3 separate regions of the Homo sapiens genome follow, and all the other regions are linked to region 1. Evidence: promoter capture Hi-C in 16 types of primary human blood cells and fetal thymus (Javierre and others, 2016). All regions are on one chromosome and are shown on one strand. The core of a region is centred on a gene start or on the middle of the fragment in contact, and the rest is flanking DNA. Distances in the headings are between cores, read along the strand shown. Region 1 holds the start of CDK6 (cyclin dependent kinase 6). Region 2 has its middle 110 kb from the start of SAMD9. Region 3 overlaps CDK6 (cyclin dependent kinase 6).

Region 1 (3,318 bases), core at 505-3,004:
CGGCTAAAGGCCCGGTCCAGTCTGCAGCCGGACGCCCCCGGAGCCCTCTGCACAACAAAGCGCCAGAGTAGGGTACCCTAACTTTCCCTCCCCATTCAGCAGCTATCTGGGACCTAGGGGGCCTCCCTCCTCCAGGGCCGCCGCGGCCTCGGCAGGACTTTCACCACGACGGCCGCATGTCCGGAATTCCCGGGGCACCTCGGAATTACCTGCCTCGCAACCGCTGGCCCGCTCGCCTTTTGCCAGGAATTAAACAAACGGCGCGACCCCCACGATGAGCGGGTGGAGCGGACCGCGGCGAGAGCAGAGCTTCTGGCACTCACTACATTCAGAACTTTCCTTAAAAGCCGAGGAAAGAGCCCCCAGGGACTGCCCGGGGGTCTGAGCCAGGTCGAGGGCCACACAGGTAGCCGGGGAGCCGCCGCCGGCCGCCCAACCCGCCTGTCCTGCATCCCCCCAACCCCCTCCCGCTCGAGTCTAGCCCCGGGCTCCGCAGCGAAGGAAGCGTCGGGGACGTCCCACCCCCGCAGGGAACTGCGCCTGCTGCCCCCGCCGGGCCCCGCACTGCCCTGGCTCTCCCCCCACTCGCCCCCCAGACGGTCGGCTTCGGCGGAGAGAAACGGGAGCAGCAATGCCTTTTCCCCCCCTCTCCTCCACTTTTTTTTGTTGTTGTTGTTGCTTTCCCACGCTGGCTGAATGTGACTTGACCCCATTTCAAAAAAAGTTTGACATAGTGCTTCAACATTTCCGCATTCCTCCGCGACTACAAAGGCTGCAGCCGCCTCCTTCTGCTTTCTGTCTCTGCTCTCTGTCTTCACACTCAATGAAATCCTTCATGCGCCTCTCCCGAAGCCTGCCAAGCACCACAAGGGTCGCCACCAGCACAGCGACAAGAGGCCACACCGGGGACCGCGACTCCCGCGTGTGCGCACACGCAGATGCGCCCATATGCACACGGACGGGCGCGCTGCGGGGACCAGGGCTGCTCACTGCGGGGCGTGTGTTTAACTCCAATATTTTAAATTATAAAAGTAAACTTGGAAACTACAGCAAACGTGCGTCTTCGCGGGGCTCCAAGCCTGGGCACTGGCCGGCTGCGTGCACTTTTCTGTGTATAACACGCCCGCAGGAAGCCTGCGTTAACATTTATCTCGTGGAGGGGAAGGTGGAGCCCACACCCACACCTCAGCGAGCTGGAGAGGGAGTTTTCGAGGGGGAAATGCAAGCACATTCTCCAGCATGGAGTCCCTAGAGGCAGTGCATTTTAAACCCTAAATGTGAATTATTATGTGAGTGTCCGAGTAGAGTTCCAGTTCCGTTTGGAGAAACTGTATGAGGCGTGTTCCGTGTGGGTGTGTGTGCGTACGGATACGTGGAAGCAGGATCTCGGTGTCGCGGGTGTCCCTAGGCTGGGATCTCCCCCTCTCATCAGATAAGGAGAATCCTCTAGCTCCCCAAAACTGGCCCCCATAACCAATCCCGTCTCAGTTCGTAAGGGGTTAACCAAAGCCGATTCCAAGGAAACACAGGTCCCCCCCACCCCCCGCCACCCTCCACTTACCCCACCCACAGTTCTGCCTCGGACCCCGGCCAATCCCCCAGATCTCCCCCGGGACCCCCCACCCCGCAGCCCACCCACCCGAGCGCACAGCTCCTCACCTGAGGGGCCCAGTCGCGTCGGGCCTCCCGAGGGGGCTGCGAGTGTCAGTCGGCTCTCCGCACGTGTCCGCGGCCTCGCGGAGCAGGTAATCAGACTCTGGGGAAGGAGTTACCAGCACTCTCTCCGGCGAGGGGGTGGGCACAGCGGCGGAGGGCGGAGGGACGGCGGAGGGCGCCGCCCGCGCCGCTCGCTGGGGGCGGACGGGGGCCGCTGGGCTCCGGCCGGCGCTGGGGGCCCCAGCCGGGGAGGCAGCTGGGGCGACCGTGCGGGGTGGGGGCAGGGACCCGCGAAGCCAACTCTGCCGGAGACCCACCCCCCGGCGGGGCTGGGGGCTCGTGGCGCAGTGGCAAGAAAGTGTGCAAATTAAAGCCTTCCGGAGAGAAATGAGGCGGCCGAGTCCCGGCAGTGCTCCGAGCTCCGGGCTCCCTAGCTCCCTTCTACGAGTCGGGGGCTAGAAGGGCGCGGTGGGGGTGGGGGTGGGGGGGAGAGTTAAATGAAAATTTCCGGCTTTCGCTGAAACTGTAGTAGGGGGATCCTGCGACTAAAATAAGCGGCATTAGTGGGAGAGAGTGGGACGTGTCGTCGGGAGTCGGCGGAGTTTCCAAACCCAGGGTCGCCCAGAGTTGGGGTTTTGACAGGGTGAAGCGGGGGGCATCCTCACTGTGTGACGTGGACGGATGGGAAAAACACAAAACAACCAACAATAATTATGAGCGGCCAATGGGGGTGGTAAATACCAATACTTTCCAAGAAACTGAAAAATCAGACCAAAAAATAACTCTTCTCTTAAAAAAATAAAGAAAAAGTTTGGCAGGATGCCTTGCAGAAAAGAAAATACTAATCTATCCAAGCACTTTTCACTTTCAGCATGAGCTACATTTGTTTTGTTTTCCTTCGCTTCCTTTCTGCCTCACAAAGCCCTATCTTTTCCTTTTAGACAGAGGATATGGTTTGGAAATTGTCAGGCACTCTTATGGTTAACGATCTACTTGAAGGGGCTGGCGGGCTCACAATTATTAAGTGGTTAGTAACTGCTGAGGGTTCACTAACGTATTTCAGAGGAGCTAAAAAGACTAAAATTTAGTGTAAATAATAGAACTGCAGATAGTAGATACATACACAAAAAGAGGAGTGCTCAGTTTAAATGCATTATTGGAAATCTGAAATTTGAAACCTTGTAAGAATGTATACTTTACCTGCTGAGAAACCCTTGAATACAATTATTTCAGGTGAAAATTAGATTTTGGAGAAAAAAAAGTCTTTAAAACTTTCTACAATGGAGTAAAAGAAAACTTGAAATAGCTGTCTTTTTGGAAAGAATTTGGTGTTCTCCCCAAAATCTCTATCTGTAGAATACTTGAAACCCTTTAAAACATCTTAAAGCAAAACTTTTCACAAAATTATTTACTTAAGTGCTTTGTAGAAAAATTAAAACCTGGCAAAATTCTGTTTGAATTGGAAATACTACTTCTATAAATCTTTTGACTTTAAAACCATGTTACTAATCTCACAGTAAATCAAATTTTTGCCTTTATAAAACTGATTCTATGTTATAGTGTGAGGTAAGGCTAGGGAAATAAAAATTGATGCATTTTCAGTAGCACATATTTTGCAATGCATTATAATACTTTTTTCTTTAAAAATAAAAGTGAATAATT
Region 2 (3,288 bases), core at 550-3,049, 170 kb after region 1:
TGGTAGAATTGTCTACTTCCTGTTTGGCAAAACATGTCCTCCCAATGCCACTTAGGTACATCATCCACTTTGCCCTGCCCCATCACCATCTCCATGAGGCACAGACTTCGCCACAGAGGCTGTCCATTACAGTTATCCAGATCCCAGGTGAGGGAAAATGGTCATGGGCAGAAACTGTCAGGCAGCCAAGACTCATGCATGGAGGTAGTGACCATTTTGCTACTGCTTATTTGCTTTAGAGCAAAAAAAAAAAAAAAAAAAAGTCATGGTTGAGAACCACATATTTGATTGTTCCCTAACAGAGAACACAGAGAAGTTGTCAGCATAGGTATATTCCAAATACTTCATGAAACTAAAAAATTAAGTGTTTTTTATCTGAGGTTCAAATCTAATTGTGCACTTTGTAATTTATTTGCTAAATTTAGCAATCCTAGTCCTTAAAGAGAAAGGCTTCCCATTATCTCCCATTCTTGGAAGCAAAAAATAATTGAAAATAGCCAAAATAAACACAGAGCAAGAAGCCCAGAAGCAAGAGTCCGTGATCCCTAAATATGGTTTATTTAGGATAAAATTATTTGGTCCCTCAGTTCTCCCTCCAGCTCTGCTGCTTGAGACACCACAGTTGAAAGCAGGTGCTTTAGGGAAAGGATTCATGTGAACTGGAAGTTGGACTTCTAACTCTGAGTGAGTTTGAGCAACCCCTTAATCTCATCGAACCTAGTTTTCTCATTTGTAAAATTAAAACACTAGACCAGGTAACCTCTGAGGTCTTTCCAATTCTAAAAATATTCTCCTTTGTATAAAAGAAGTGAGGAGAAATCAACATTTGCTGAACATATATTAAATGGTCAGTATTGTACAGGATAGTTTAATACATTATTTAATCCTCAAAATAATTCAGAGAAGCAAGTTCTACTATCCTTGAAATCAATGCATGGCAATTCTTGAAGGCAACCTTTATTTTTTCTCTTCTCTCATTTCAAGGAAAGACTACATAGATGCATTACAGAAACGAGTTAAATTCCACAACACGTTAACTAGACATGGTTAGTTCACTGATGATTTGGTGGGGTGACAAAGTACCGATAACATACCAGATTTTCTGCTCTTAATTATGAATTTCCAATCTGCCACTAGCTATCAATTCTCAAATTCTTTTCTTCCAAACCAGTCTGTTGTCCCTAGACTCCTTCCTCAATGGGATTAGACTCAGTAATAAAGTCGAATTCAGGGCATTTTCAAAGTGTGGAGAGGCTGTTTGAACTGGCCAATTGTCACTGAGAACTATCTTTCAAGCACTGAACATCTGTTGGTAAAAAGCTTCTGGCTGACTTTCAAGAGAAACTCTTTAACTTCTATTGATAAGTAGTTCAGTTAAGTAGAAAAAAAAAACCCTGTGAGATTAATCAAATAGAAAATACACACAAAAGCGTTGTATTCTACAATATGCCTTAGTGTTATGCTGCAATTATAATTGGGTTAAAATGGCAAAGATGAGGAGCATGAAATCATTTTAGGAAGCCTTTTGAGTAAGGCTCTTTTCTTTCAGCATAATACTCTTGAAATTAACCCACAGTTGTGCATATCATTAGTTTGTTACTTTTTGTTACTGGGTAGTATTCTATTGTATGAATGTACCACAGTTTATCTATTCATCCTTTTTGACCATTTAGGTTGTTTCCAGCTTTTGGTGACTGTGAATAGAACTGTAGAAATAAAAGATAAAAATTTCATATAGGTTTTTGTGCAGACATATGTTTTTATTTTTTGTGGGTAAATACTTAGAAATGGAATTGCTACATTGTATGGTAATTTTTTGTTTAATGTGTAACTAGCTGCTAAACTTTTTCTCAATGTGATAGTACCATTTTACATTTCCACCAGCAGTGTATGAGAATTTCAGGTGCTCTGCATCCCAATCAACATTTGCTATTGTCATTCTTTTAAATTAGCCACTCTGATAGGTGTAATAAATTAGCCACTCTGATGCGTGTATCATATGATGGCTTCAACTTGCATTTCTCTAATAAGTAATGACATTGAGCATCTTTTCTTGTGCTTATTTGCCATCTGTGTATCTTCTTTTGTAAGTTATCTATTCAAACCTTTTGCCTATTTTTTAAAAATTGTGTGGTTTGCTTTCTTATGAGTTTTGAGAGTTCTTTTATATATCCTGGATACAAGCCCTTCATCAGATATGTGATTTGTAAATATTTTTCCCACCTTGTGTCTTGCTTTTTAATTTTCTTAACATTGTCTTTCAGATCTTTGAAAGTGCAGAAGCTTTTAATTTAATGAAGTCTAATTTACCATTTTTTTCTTTTTGATTCATGATTTCAGTGTCCTAAGAAATCTTTGACTAACTCAAGGTAACCAAGATTTTCTCCTTTTCCTTTTTTCTACATATTTTATCATTTTAGCACTTATGCTTAATTCTGTGAGCCATATGGAGTTAATTTTTTAAATATGGTGGCAAAGGTTCACATTTTTTTCATATGTATACCCATTTGTCCAATACCATTTATTGAAACAACTCTATTCCCCATTTAATAACCTTGACATCATTGTTGAAAATCAAACGGCTGTGTGGGTCTATTTTTGATTCTCTTCTATGTTTGTCCTTATGCAAACACCACATTGACTTAATTAGTGTAGCTTTTTACTAAATCTTAAAATCGAATGGTGAAAAACCTCTAACGTTTAGTATACTCTCCTAGAGTGTTCAAATTTGGAAATACTAGGAGGGGATATTTCTTTTTCCCAGAAAAGGACTCTGAACACTTGTACATATTCTGGAAGCATCCTTTGCTTCCTGCAGTAATTTATATCTGTTACTACTAAGCTTTAAGTATTCCAAGAGTTCATTATAAGTTCTTGCTTTCATGTGCTCTTGCAAATGAACCCCTTAAACAGATCACTTCACGTCCATGATGTGTGTAATTCGTCATGGAAGTCACTAATCCCAGATCTCCATGGAAGGCAAGTGGTAGCATTATTGAACAGCTCGACTTTTCTGACTGTCAAATTATCTTGCTCACCCATGGTTTCCTGATGCTTGGAACTCTGGCTTCTCACCTCAGAGGCTTTGTAAACAAAACAGTTTGTATAGGTTGCATTTGAAATGCAAAAAGCTTACTTTTTAAGTGTTGGGAATTCCAGGGAACATAAAATCACTTTCACCAATTCAATCTATAAAAATGAGAAATCAAGAACGTTAGTCATGCAAACTATAAAGTCACAAATCAAGGAGATTTCTGCTGAAGACAGAGCTTTATCCTTGTTTTTTGG
Region 3 (3,249 bases), core at 437-2,936, 220 kb before region 1:
ACAGAACATTATAGAGACTATTAATCATCCCAAAAAACAAGTGCTAGGAAAGAGTTAAATATGCGCAGAAAAATAAAGTTAGAATGAAATCTCTTTTAGAAGTACCTCTTTAGTCTTCATCAGATTTGTTTTTCTCTAAAAGTGCCACCTTGTGGAATATACCGGAATAAAACAAGAAAGCTCATCTCTTAGGACAGTGTGAATGTTTAGAAAGACTTTTGCAAGAAAAGTCACCTTCCTTTCCTACCACATCAACTTCAAATTGCTGTAACAGTATTTCAGCAGATGCTCGAAAAGAGCCTGTATTTATTTTCAGGTGGCTCTTGTTTTCTTCCTAAGGCTAGACAAGGTAACAATATGTTGAAGGAAGTCCACTTCTACTCATTTAGCTAAACGTTATCACTTCCTGGAAATGCTGAGAAATAGAAAACATTTTGAAAAGCTGATTGGCACTTCATTAAGAAAATAAAAATCCCCAGAAAGGCTACTTGAGAAAAAAACGTGTAAAAATTGGACCCCTTCTGTTTTTACATTTCTGTTGCTTACAAAGGTCAGAAGATAGAGAGACCAAAGGATTATTTTTGGTTTATTTTCTGAAAAAGTACAAGATAGAAATGCTTGAGATATAGGGATGTATTAAAATTGGGTTGTGAATTGCATTGATATAGAAAGGGAGTAAATAAGAAATGAAAATGCTAGTTTCTCATGCTTTTGAGGAAAACAGCATTTCTAATTACTCTAAGGACTTACATTTCTTGGCACACTTTGGTAGCCTCAATAAGTTTTTCCACTGTGGAGATGGAACATGTAAATATCTTCCTAATTATATACCCAAATATACTTAATGGACATGATAAATGGTTTTGGGTAAGGTTCACAATTTTTCAAAAGTATTGGTGGCATAGGAAACACATGCCTTTTAAAAATTTATTTTTTCAATGAACGTTCTTAGGCATGTGTAAGAAGTATTGCTTCATGTGGTTGCCTCTTCCCTTGAAATGGGAAAAAAGTACAGGTAATTTAGTTTGCTTGGGACAGCTTCTCCATAACATTTGTTTTCGACCATATTAATCCCACAGTTACCAGATGACCTTAGTATAAATTTTTACAATATATTTGTTCATAAAGAATATATCCTTCAAAATATATATAGCTTTGAAACTACCCTTTAAATACCTTCATTTTCTCCAGAATTTCCTTTATCTATTGCCCACTGTTTTATGAATAATTTTTAAAGCCTTAGAAATCATACATCTTTATCTGTCACAATGTGAAACATGCATTCTTTTGAATTATATAAATATCTAAGAGTTTATAATAACATTCCAATATTTTCTTTCCAGGGTAAATATTCTGTAGTTTCTATACTAACATAATTAAGTAATTATGGTGGCATATTCACTTTTAACATTATTTTTTCCTAGACTCAACTATGCAATTAAAGCCTGCTTTTGGAAAATGTAAGACACTCTCATGTGCTTATCATAAGAATAGTCAAATTGTCACTTAAAAGAAAAGCAATATTTTAGAAGAATTTTAATATGTTTATGATATTAGGAAGCTTACATAATTTAATTTCCACAATGGAACAATAATGGCCATTACTGACTTTAATAGGCACCACTTGTAAAAGAAGCAGCTACAGTTTCTTAAACACTCACTTTAAATACATAATTTAAAGTTCAAAATGTTTGGTACTATTTAAGAGTTTTCTCATCAAGATGGATAGTACATTCTGGAGAGTCAAACTATACATTTCTCTATAGAAAAGAAACATGCTTTATTTAAGATAGGAACATCTCATGCCTTCTAAAGCTTTCATTTTTATTTAACACAATGCTGAGATTCTATTCTTAGGTGAATAATTTTCAACTATTTTTAGTAAGTCACCTGGGGCTAAATGAAAAGTCTGCCATTCACAGTGTGTGCTTCCTGAGAGAAAATCATGAGAATACAGGGGGCTGAAATGGCCCCAAGCTTTCTTCCAAAACAGGTTCTTTGCACCTTGAGTTCCCATCCACTTCAAAGGAGGGACAAAGTGGGAGGCTCCAACCCACTGGGTTCTTACAAGTGCTTAGAAATTGTATTTTTAAGATTAGGTCCTTTTTATTACCCTTTGCCATGGGATTTCTTATGAAAGCTAAATGGACAAGTTTCTCTTTTTCTCTTTTTATATGTAGGTTGTTTTGACTCCACCCTGTGCAACAGTTCCCAAAATGCCTGAGCCGCCAGAACCAAACATCAAACAGAAACTAGCAGGGACATTCTTGTACTGGTCCTACTATGAAATTCAAACATGATTTCAAATCTGTCACAATATTTTAACTTGCTATGAGCTGCTTCAGTGTAACCTTGGGGCAATATGCCCTTTTCAGTTCACCACTGCTTAGCTTTTGGCAAAGATGTTTGAAACCATATGTTACAGAAGAATAAGCTGTAGTCACTAAGTTCTTACTCTACTATCTGCTTCAAAATGCCCTAACGGCAAGACTGCTTGTGTTGGATCTGGATTTCAGAAATGGCGAATCTGGACATAAAATACATAAATCAAGAGAGTATTCACTCAAATGCAACAACTACACCGATGGAAGAACTGGGGACAGATTTTTACAAAGTTCAGAGAGGCTGAGATGCCCTTTCATTCTGTGTCATCAGAAGATAATCTGCCAACGATTGAATGCCAGAATGTTTGTGCTTTAATTTTTCTTCATAAGCACTGCCTAGAAATGAGTCAAAAGCAGATGCTAGGAATAAAAGTTGAGCTCTCTACTCATTTAAAATTCTAAAGAATGCTGAAAAATTCCAGTTCAGAACAGCTGCATTTTTCTTGAGTGAACTTATGAAAACACTTTTACAACAGCAAAAACTAAAGCTATGTTCACTCTAGCCATGAATACTAACCAAAAAGCTCAGATGAATCAGTGCAGTGAGTTTTTAAATTCAATTTGTAGGCCCTAGCAAAAATGTCTTTGTATTTTGACCCTCGATCAAAGGAAAGGCAGAACTCACTTTTCCATGTGAGACTTTGAGTAGACCTGACCTTGAATGCTGTGGATTCATTATATCTCAAGCATTTATAGTACTGACAACACCTAATCAATGTTGTCACAACGAAAGTAGAAAACATTTGTATGGCCCATCTCCTTTATTATCTTGCTCTAGAAAACAATGTTCCTGTTCCTCAAGCTACTGAATTAGAACAATGTTAAGTAGTACAGCAATTAAAAAAGAATAGTTCCCAACCCCAAA

The links. Contacts are between HindIII fragments. The CHiCAGO score rates a contact against its expected background, and 5 or more counts as called.
Region 2: a fragment that was not itself captured here is called in contact with the fragment with the promoter of CDK6 in region 1 in 1 of 17 cell types (erythroblasts); the score reaches 5.8 in erythroblasts.
Region 3: a contact is called between a fragment that was not itself captured here and the fragment with the promoter of CDK6 in region 1, in 16 of 17 cell types (fetal thymus, erythroblasts, activated CD4 T cells and 13 more). The highest score is 19.5, in fetal thymus.

What each region holds. Positions count from the first base shown.
Region 1 is chr7:92,834,819-92,838,136 of GRCh38, forward strand. CDK6 (cyclin dependent kinase 6) reads right to left here and starts at 1,755. Exons shown (of 8, transcript NM_001145306.2): 1 at 1,660-1,755. CDK6-AS1 (CDK6 antisense RNA 1) reads left to right here and starts at 1,665. Exons shown (of 2, transcript NR_110088.1): 1 at 1,665-1,745. RefSeq lists silencers at 338-587, 1,698-2,057 and an enhancer at 1,168-1,247. The HindIII fragment of the contact is 6,850 bases long and covers 1-3,318 here.
Region 2 is chr7:93,007,778-93,011,065 of GRCh38, forward strand. No RefSeq gene overlaps it. Among named protein-coding and RNA genes, the nearest start is that of SAMD9, 110 kb to the right of the region's middle. The HindIII fragment of the contact is 963 bases long and covers 1,319-2,281 here.
Region 3 is chr7:92,609,945-92,613,193 of GRCh38, forward strand. CDK6 (cyclin dependent kinase 6) reads right to left here. Exons shown (of 8, transcript NM_001145306.2): 8 at 1-3,249. Among named protein-coding and RNA genes, the nearest start is that of FAM133B, 21 kb to the left of the region's middle. The HindIII fragment of the contact is 254 bases long and covers 1,560-1,813 here.